Linked DNA regions of Homo sapiens: region 1 is linked to region 2. Evidence: promoter capture Hi-C in human tissues and cell types (Jung and others, 2019). All regions are on one chromosome and are shown on one strand. The core of a region is centred on a gene start or on the middle of the fragment in contact, and the rest is flanking DNA. Distances in the headings are between cores, read along the strand shown. Region 1 overlaps VPS26A (VPS26 retromer complex component A). Region 2 holds the start of SUPV3L1 (Suv3 like RNA helicase).

What was found. The method cuts DNA at HindIII sites, captures the fragments that hold promoters and counts their contacts. A contact is called where the count stands out against the background at its distance.
Region 1: a contact is called between a fragment that was not itself captured here and the fragment with the promoter of SUPV3L1 in region 2, in 1 of the 25 tissues and cell types used here (adrenal gland).

What each region holds. Positions count from the first base shown.
Region 1 is chr10:69,139,341-69,144,286 of GRCh38, forward strand. The region is part of intron 2 of VPS26A (VPS26 retromer complex component A); the gene reads left to right. Among named protein-coding and RNA genes, the nearest start is that of VPS26A, 18 kb to the left of the region's middle. The HindIII fragment of the contact is 3,189 bases long and covers 1,587-4,775 here.
Region 2 is chr10:69,178,261-69,183,908 of GRCh38, forward strand. SUPV3L1 (Suv3 like RNA helicase) reads left to right here and starts at 1,974. Exons shown (of 15, transcript NM_003171.5): 1 at 1,974-2,302. The coding sequence starts at 2,032. RefSeq lists an enhancer at 1,689-2,058. The HindIII fragment of the contact is 9,715 bases long and covers 1-5,648 here.

The sequences.
Region 1 (4,946 bases), core at 1,931-4,430, 38 kb before region 2:
TCACCCAGGCTGGAGTGCGGTGGCATAATCTCGGCTCACTGCAACCTCTGCCTCCTAGGTTCAAGCGATTCTCCTGCCTCAGCCTCCCAAGTAGCTGGGACTACAGGTGCCCACCACCATGTCTGGCTAGTTTTTAAATTTTTAGTAGAGATGGGGTTTCACCATATTGGCCAGGCTGGTCTCAAACTCCTGACCTTGTGATCCGCCTGCCTTGGCCTCCCAAAGTGCTGGGATTACAGATATGATCCATCGTGCCCGGCCTTCTTGAGTGTTTTAAATCTATTATTACTGCATTGTCTTCTGGCATAGGGTATTGTTAACAGTTTTTTCATTTGAGGAAAGTTTTCTTGAATTACAGCCATTATTAATTAGTATTTATTCCATTCCTTTGCTTTGGTTTTCTTCTTGATATCAGTATTTTTGAGTCTTGTTTGAGTGTGGTTTTTTGCTCTTGTATTCCTTCTGCTTATCCTTTATTTCTAAAATGATTTTTACTTCTATTTCTAATTCTTTTCTGATTTTTCTCACCCTAGCTTAAGATTTTCTTTCATGTATTGTATCATTTTCTTAATATCGTATAGCCTGTTTTGAAATAAATTACAGTTTTGATCTATCTTGTCTGTAGAAATGCCATTCTGTTCCTTCTCTTTTTTTCTTAAAATAACTTTGTATGGGATTTGACCTTGATATATTTATGTTGCTAATTTTTATGTGAAATTAGTTTTCCCCAATGTTTTTTTTTTTTGAGATAAGATCTTGCTCTGTTGCCCAGGCTGGAATGCAGTGGCATGACTATGGCTCACTGCAGCCTTGACCTCCAAGGCCCAAGCGATCCTCCTACCTCAGCCTTCCGAGTAGCTGGGACCACAGGCATGTGCCACTGTGCCTAGCTAATTAAAAAATATATATTTTTTGTAGAGACAGGGTCTTGCTATGTTGCTCAGGCTGGTCTCAAACTCCTGAGCTCAAGTGATCCTCCCATCCTGGCCTCCCAAAGTGCTGAGATGTGAGCCACTGCACCCGACCTTCTCCTGAACTTTTTGTCTTTTCGTGATAGAGTCTCACTCTGTCACCCATGTTGGAGTGCAGTGGCACGATTTCAGCTCACTGCAACCTCCGTCTCCCAGGCTAAAGCGATCTTCCCATCTCTGCCTCCTGAGCAGCTAGGACCACAGGGCACACTACCACGCCCAATTATTATTATTATTATTTTTGGTATTTTGGGGTAGATACGGGGTTTCACCGTGTTGCCCAGGCTGGTTTCGAGCTCCTGAGCTCAGGCGATCCACCTGTCTCAGCCTCCCAAAGTGCTGGGATTACAGGTGTGAACCACTGTGCCTGGCCCTTCCTGAACTTTTGATGGTTTGGTTTAGGATAGTTTTTCTAACCACCTATCCTAGACAGCAGGCCTGACTGGTCAGTTTTGAGTGTTCTAATATTATTGGATTGTGCAAAACTCCTTCCAGCGTTAGCTCTTATTCTCAGATTGACACCATGCTTTCCAGTGAATATATATGAGTAATTTGGGAGTTCTTAGGTCCATCAGACACTCCATTGCATTCTTTGATTCCTCCTGCACAACCCTAGTATCATGCAGGTTTTGTGGCTATTAACCTGGTTTGTCCCTACGCATTATGTTTTGGGATTGTGGGAATACTTTATCTTTTTCTGTGGTAAATTGGATCCTTAGATTTTTTTGGTTTTGCTGTCTAGTTGGTCCATCTGTTTTTATGTGACGATCTGGGGAGATTCAAAGACTATGTTGCCATCTTCCCAGAAATTGATCTGAGATTCTAAAAGGCCATGTGTAACCATTCTGGCAGTTTAGCAATATGTATCAAAATCTTCAAAAGTGGATATCATTTATAGTAGCCAGAATAGTCTGGATTATTACTATGTAAGAGACAACCCCAAAACTCAGTGACTTAAAAACAACAGTGGCAGTGGCTTCTTTCTTGCCCAGGCAACATGTTCCTTGTGAGTTAGCTGAGGGCCTTATTCTGTGCCATGCTCAGTGATGGAGCAGCCAGGAACATCACACTCATCATGGCTGAGGGAGAGAAATCTCTGCAGAGTCTTTCACAAGCCATTAAAATGCCCCATCCTAGAAGTAACAAAGAGCATTTCTGATCAAATTTATTGTCTCTAGAAACAGTCTTGTTCGTACCTCACCCAGCCACAAGAGGGTAGGGAATACAATCATACCATGCACTCAGAATGTATGCAGCTGGAAATATTTGAGCAGTGCCTGTATTGATTAATATTATTTTGATCCACAGATTCTTCTGATCAGATTTTATCCTAAAATAATCAACTTTGTTCATTTCACTGTTTATAATATTCAAAAATTGAAAGCCACTTAAATGTCCAGACATTAAAAAACCTAATTATGGTAATAACCATTAAGTGCTTAGGGCCATTATTAATGTGATTATATTGATCTGTATTCATTCACATGAAAAGAGGTTTGCTATAATAACAATATTTACTGAGTACTCACCATGACCCAGGTATTCCTTCTGAAGTTCTTCATAATGATACAATGATTCCTCTTTTTTTTTTGAGATGCAGTCTTGCTCTGTTGCCAGCCTGGAGTGCCGTGGCGCGATCTTGGCTCACTGCAACCTCTGCCTCCCGGGTTCAAGTGATTCTCCTGCCTCAGCCTCCCGAGTAGCTGGGATTACAGGCGCATGCCACCACGCCCGGCTAATTTTTTGTATTTTTAGTAGAGACGGGGTTTCACCATGTTGGCCAGGATGGTCTCAATCTCTTGACCTCATGATCTGCCTGCCTCAGCCTCCCAAAGTGCTGGGATTATAGGCGTGAGCCACCATACCAGGCCTTTTTTTTTTTTTTTTTTTTTGAGGTGGGGTCTCACTGTGTTGCCCAGGCTGAGTGTAGTGTCATGATTACGGCTCACTGCAGCCTCATCCCCCTGGGGGCCCAAGTAATCCTCCTACCTCAGCCTCCCAAGTAGCTGGGACCGCAGACATATGAACCACCCTGCCTGGCTAATTAAAAAAATTTTTTTTTTTTATAGATAGGGTCTTGTTGTGTTGCCCAGTCTGGTCTCAAACTCCTGGACTCAAGTGATTCCCCAACCTTGACCTCCCAAAGTGCTGGGATTATAGGCATGAGCCACTGTGCCTGGCCAAGGATTATTTGAAAGATTATCTTGTGTTCAGTAAAATTAGGATAACTAAAGAAAATGAAAAAAGTGGTATAGATTTGTAATAACCTCAGAAAGACTATCTTGACAACGAGCTTGAGGCTTTTAAAGCTAAGAAAGACATTTTAAACCTCATATTTAGAATAAGATGAATAAGAAAATAATATGCTCATTTGGCACACTTATTTTAATATAACAAATGCAAAAGAAAGCTTTCCCCCCACTATTCAAAAAAAAAAAAAAGATTTAAATTGGGAAAGGTAGGATCATTAAAAATTAAAACAGAATGAAAGCTTTGTTATGGTTAAGAAGATTAAAAATAAACTAACTAGTTTTCAAACATCCTGGTGACCATACCAGACAAATGCTATGCGATAATACTGAAAGAATTTTGCAGAACTGGTCACCAAATCTCTGCTAGGAGTCCTTTAGTAATTGTGGAAAATGAGAGAGGTTCTAGAATATAAGAAAAGCCCTTATTTATAAAATGGGGTAGAAAGTTTGTTTCAGGTAAACTTAATATTGGTTCCTGACATATCTTTAGATTATTAAATAGGTGATCAGTGAACATGCTGAAAAGAAAGCTTAAAGGAAAAAGAGGAGGAAACAACGGGTTGTTTACGACCAAGCATGTGTCACTAAGAACAAATCTTGCCACACCAATCTAGGGTTTGTGAAATGTCCTGGTGTAATAAAAAGATCACTGGGCTAGCACTGGAAGATCTAGCCTTAACTTTACCGCTGTCTTGGTAGGTAACTCTGGACAGTCATTTAATTTCCTGGATCTCACCTATAAGTTTAGGAGGTTAGACTGCCTCATTGGTTTCCAAACTTGGCTTTGCACTGTAGGATGCTCTGCATGAAAATCTTTCATATATTAGATATTATGTTGGATCTTGGAGGTCTGACATCTCGCCCACAGCAAGAATAAATTCCTTTTTAATATTCCTGACGTGAGTTTCTGTATGCCTACTTTTCAGAGTGTGGGGATTCTGCTGTTCTGTTAACAGTATCCACTCTGCTTTTTAGAGATACGCAAAATAAATCTAATCCTTTTCTAAGTAAGAGTTCTCTCTAAGCATTTTCCACATCACTGTCTTGTTTATCCTGTCTTCTCTAAGCTAAATATGCTATTTCCTTTAGTTATTGTTCAAGAACCCTGGGTTTTGAGTCTTTATCACCCAGATTGCTTTCTTTTAGTTTTCAAATTAAATTTAATTTTTTTGAGACAGGGTCTTGCTGTGTCACCCAGGCTGGAGTGTAGTGATGTGGTCATGGCTCATTGTAGCCTTGACCTCTCAAGCTCAGGCGATCCTCTCACCTCAGCCTCCCAAGTAGCTCAGACAACAGGCACACACCACCATGCTCAGCTAATATTTTACTATTTTTGTAGAGTTGGGGTCTCCCCATGTTTCCCAGGCTAATCTCAAACTTCTGGGCTCAAGTGATCCTCCTGCCTCTGCCTTCCAAAGTGCTGGAATGACAGGTGTGAGGCACTGTGTCCAGCCTCAGATTCTTACATAACTATATAGAAAACTGGTTTGCATTATCTGTATCCAGCAGTTCTACTCCTAGATACATACTCAAGAGCTCTTTTAAGAGCAATTCTAGATTTTCAGAAAAATTGAGCAGAAAGTAGAGTTCTGTGTACTCCCTTCTTCCTCACCCCAGCCCCACATGGATTCACTGTTACTAATCTTGCATTAGAGTGATACATTTGTTAAAATTGTTGAACCATTATTACCACATTATTATTAACTAAAGTCCATAGTTTACA
Region 2 (5,648 bases), core at 724-3,223:
GGACGTTGCAGTGAGTTATGATTGCACCACTGCACTTCAGCCTGGGCAACAGAGTGAGACTGTCTCAAAAAAAAGAAAAAAAAAAGATTTAGATTTGTATCTGACTCTACCACTTACTGGGGCAAGTTAGTTAACCTGGTGACAATAATACCTCTAAATTGTTGTCAAGCATATTAAAAGATTAAAAGGAACAACATAGTGCTTGCCTCAGTTACGTATTAAACGTTTGGTTTATCCTTCATTCTCCTAGTTTCCAAATCTGACGAGACATCATTGTTTATTAACATTTTCTAGCATATTTAGTCACTCACTACATTATCTAAGGAGTCTTGTAAAACCTCTCATTCCACATACATGGTCTCCATCATAACTCAGACACAGGAATCTACCACCTTCAGCTAGAACTGTTGATAAAGTTGTAATTTTCCTCCCTGCATATTTGTGTTTATCCTAGTCTATCCTAGGTACTTCCTAATGAATGATTTCTCTTCTCAAAAATATAATCACTATTTGTAAGCCATAGAATTAGGTCTGCGTTAACTCTGTTACTTAAATTTTTTTCAGTATGTCTTTTCCTTAGTTAAGCCTCTGCTTACATCGTTTCCACTGACTAGAATTTACTTACCGCTTCTCTATGTTTTACTTTTAAGTCTGGCAGAAATCTCCTTACCACTCTCAAATTGCTCCTTTCTTTGAACTGCCATTAGTCTATTAGAGTAATAAGTGCATTATTTAACGTGTACTGTTCTTACCACCAAAACCAGATCAGAACCTTTGAAAGCAAAGGACTGTCTCCTTGTATCCCTGATGTTTAAAAATTATTTTGTGAATCAAAGGCACGTGGCAAATTGTTACTGGAATCCTATTAGACATACAGTATTGTATATTACATAACACGTTCCTTCAAGTTGTAAGATCTTAATGATGTAAGTATAAAGAGATGTGGATGGAGATGCTAAACTTGTGAATTTTTTTTTTTTTTAGACGGAGTCTCACTCTGTTGCCCAGGCTGGAGAGCAGTGGCCCGATCTCGGCTCACTGCAACCTCTGGCACCCAGGTTCAAACGATTCTCCTGCCTCCGCCTCCCTAGTAATTGGGATTACAGGTGTGCACCACCACGCCCGGCTGATTCTTGTATTTTTAGTAGAGAGGGGATTTCACCATGTTTGCCAGGCTGGTCTCGAACTCCTGACCTCAGATGATCCACCGGCCTCGCCCTCCCTAAGTGCTGCGATTACAGGCGTGAACCACCACGCCCGGGTTAAACTTGTGAATTTAACATGTTGCAGCCTCACATGAGAACACGGTATTCAACAAATGCAATGGAACGAAACTATGGCTGGGGTACAGAGCACGTATTTTTGCCATGTGGTCACAACTATGTGGTCATAGCTGCTAGGATGATGTACGCAAACTGCTCACATTAAAGCAAAAGTACTTACGTAATACAAGGGGTTTAATAGTGCAACAATATTTCTTAGCAACATTTCTGAGGGGCATATCAAGTTATTATCGCTAACGTTATCATATCAGGAAATGACGGTTAACAATGCAAGAAACTTTTGGGAAATGCTATTTAGTGTTTGAGTCCGCAAGACATACTCGTACCCTGAGCATTCGCAGTTGCTGCTCCACCACCCATTCTCTCACTGCTCACCCACGTGCTTCTGGACACTTGCTTACCAAAGTACTAGTTTGCATCACGTGACACGACTAGCAGGCCCCCTCCGCTCATGTATGACATCCCAAAGATGCCTGATTATTTTCCCTTCTTTAGGGAAAGGTGGTCCCAATCACCAACAAAACAGAGAAAGAGAACGAGAATTATCTCTAGTGGTTTTGCCTGCTAATCTTCTTTTTCCCTGAAAGAACACCCTCACGGCACGGCGTTTTCCTTAACGGTCAGGCGTTTTCCCGGGCAGCTTACCTGCTCGGCCTGGGTCTTTCTGGACAGCAGGCGCTGGAGGTGCGCGTCACTGTCCGCCGCCGTGTCCGCGGCTGCGCCAGACAGTGTAGAACCTGCGGCCTCGATGTCCTTCTCCCGTGCCCTATTGTGGGCTCGGCTCCCGGCGGGGCGCCAGGCTGGCCACCGGGCAGCCATCTGCTCTGCCCTTCGTCCCCACTTTGGGCCCTTTCCCGGGGTTCTGGGGCAAGTTTCTGTCCTTGCCACCGCCTCCTCCTCTGCCTCCGGTGGCTCCAAAATACCAAACACGTCCTTGTTCGTGCCCCTGACTGTGAAACCTCAGGGCCCCAGCGCCGACGGCGACGTCGGGGCCGAGCTAACCCGGCCTCTGGACAAGAGTGAGTGCGGGAACTACTGAGGGCGGCAGAGGGTGGTGTCTGCTGGGCCGAGGCTGGTTGGGAGGAAGCTACATCCCCTTCCCCTGGGGATCCGAGGTCCCATCGAGTGTTGTCATCGTGCCTCTCAGTGTCTGCCTCCTTCGCTGGTGTGTGAGCCCCTCAAACGGCTTAGGACTGTATCTGATTAATTCTTAACGCCTCGTCCCAGAAGCGGCCTTTTCCCTTTTACTGCCCTGCTCTCTGAATGGTTTAGACACTCATGTGTTGGGAAGATTTGACTTTTTTGAGTTGTTAGGTGGACGCCCGCTCTTTCTTGCATTCTTTGTTTCTCTCCCACCCCCGAATGGGATGTGGCAGTGAAAAGCCAGCGGAGACTCCTTTTAGGATTCTTTATCATTGAGGAGGCGCCGACTCATACCACGCTGTTAGGCTGTGTGGTGGTTGCCAAGAGGAACCAGACTCAGATCCAGATCCCCTCTTAAGAAACGTAACGGTATCGTGGGGGAGGACACGTGTATGGAAAGTGAACTGTAATACAAGGTAGAACATGACAAGGTCTAGAACAAGGTAGGGTGTCCCCGGCTCCAGAGAGAAAAGAAGAGGTAGCATCAGTTAGTGGCAGCGGGCTTTGCTCAGCAAAACTTAAGTTTGGATGGATTCGTTGACAGAGAGGCATGTGAATGTTTTCAAGGTGAGTTTCGGGATGATTAGGGAGGTAAGGGAGTTTCCTCTGACCATATGAAACTGGGAGATTGAGGAAATGCTATCCAGAATTGTCTCCAGGAATAGGAGGAGAAATGTCTCACTTCAACAAGCGACATTGGTGCCTCCTATTGTAAATCTAAAATATAGACTACAATATGTTTTTCAGAGCAGAAGTACAGTACTTTCACTAAACATGTGATGGAACTCACAGTATATGTTATTCTTTGACATATTCTTCCAGTGTTAAGCAAGGCCTTTCACTTTACTTGGTGCTGGGAGACTGTCTTTATTTTCTGCTGTTATAACATAATACCTGAGACTGAGTAATTTATAAACAATAGAGGTGTATTTGACTCATGGTTCTGAGCCGGGATCTGATGAGGGCCTTTGGCTGCATCATCACATGGTGGAAGGTGGAAAGGCAAATGAGCCTGTGAGACAGAGAAAGGGGGCTGAACTTATCCTTTTTTCCTGTGATAACTGACTCCTGTGATAATGGCATTAATCCACTCACAAAGGCAAACTCCTCATGTCCTAATCACCTCTTAAAGGTTCCACCTCTCAACTGTTAAAATAGCAATTAAATTTCAATATGAGTCTTGGAGAAGACATTCAAACCATAGCAGAGAATGTGTTATTTTAATAATGTAATTATACTATTATTTATTTTTAAATTATAAAAATACATAAAATTTACTCTTTTAAGCTTTTTTTTAGTTTTTTTTTCTTTACTTTTTTTTTTTTAGAGACAGGGTCTTGCTCTGTTACCCAAGCTGGAGTATAGTGGTATGATCATAGCTCACTGTAACCTCCAACTCCCAGACTCAAGCAATCCTCCTGGCTCAGCCTTCTAAGTAGCTAGGAATACAGGCGTGCATCACCATGCCTGGATAATTTTTTAATTTTTTGTAGAGATGGGGTCTTGCTATGTTGCCCAGGCTGGTCTCAAACTTCTGGGCTCCAGGGATCCTCCTGCCATGGCCTCCCAAAGCCCTGAGATTACAGACCTGAGCCACTGCACCCAGCCAGTCTTAATTGTTTTTAAGCACATAGTTCACTAGCGTTAAGTATATTGACATTGTCGCGAAATAGATGAGAACTTTTTCATCTTGCAGAGTTGAAACTCAAACAATAGTTTACCCATTAAAGAACAATTTTCCATTATTTTATATTATTTGAAGGCATAAGGTAATTTGGATGAGATAATTTGCCTTATTGTATTCAAATATTGATAAATTCTTATTTTCTGCAGCTATTCCAATTCACCTGAAAATGTAAATGTCTTTGCTGCTTCCTGTAAGAAGATAGAATAAAGACATGGGTTTGTCAGCACTAGATTTTCTTCTGGTGGAGAATCCTTAGATACTTCATTGGGTCTGTGTGCCAGGTGATTTTTCATCTCCTTTGACTGGGATTGGTCCAGATGTTGAATTTACTAGAATGATTTTTCAGCATGGCAGGAGGGGCTACAGAAGATGGTGCATTACTACACTCTGATATAGCCATGTGGTTAAGGTGTCAGATTTCCACTTAGCTTAGCAATCAGGACAAGAAGCTGTCACTTCTCAATCTCTTTTGCCTACTCATAACCCAAAAAGTTGAGGTACTTAAAGGCTTTGTCCTGCGTCACCTTGCTGCCTTATTCTGTGCTGTCTATGGGGTGTCTCATTCTCTCTCTCCCCTCACTAATTCAGTATTCCTCTCAGATCTTTGTCTCTACCCTGGACCTCTCTCCTTCACCCTGGACCTATATATCTCGCTGCCTACCAGGTGTCTCCACTTGTCTTTCTTACACACACCTCACCTTAGCATGTCAAGACAACTTACCTTCCCCTCAGCCTGCTCCTGCAGGTGCTCAGGTCAAAACCTGGTAGTCTTTGTTCTTCCATCCCTCACCCCTACATCTAACAATCAGAGAAAGCCCAGTTAATGAGTCTTGTTGATTCTACCTCATAAATGTTGGATTCATTCATTTCCCTCATTCTCCACTGCAACCAGCTTAGTCTAAATTGCCAGCTTCCATCTTTTGACTGGACTGCACATATAGCCCCTTATGTGTCTCCTCATATGCCTTTGATCCCTTCATTCTATTCTCTACCTGCAGTCAGAATGTTCTTTTAAAAAGACTAGGCTGGGCGCAGTGTCTCGTGCCTGCAATCCCAGCACTTTGGGAGGCCCAGGAGGGTGGATCGCTTGAGCCCAGGAGCTCAAGACGAGCTTGGGCAACATGGCAAAACTCCATCTCTACAAAAAATACAGAAATTAGCCAGGCATGATGGTGTGTGCCTGTAGTTCCAGCTACTTGGGAGGCTGAGGTGGGAGGGTTGCTTGAGCTTGGGTAGTAGTAGAGGTTGCAGTGAGCCGAGATTGCACCACCACACTCCAGCCTGGGTGACAAGAGTGAGACCCTGTCTCAAATAAAAAAAGAAAGATACAATTTTAATTTACATACTAGAAAGCTCACCCTTTAAAAGTGTATAATTCACTGGGTTTTAGTGTATTTGCAGGATTGTACAATCATCACCATAATTTCATTTTAGAACATTTTTATCACCCTAAAAAGAAACCTGATATCTGTTAGCAAGTCACTCTCTAGTTCCCCAGTCCCCAGTGTCTTTTTTTTTTTTTTAGCTCCAGATAA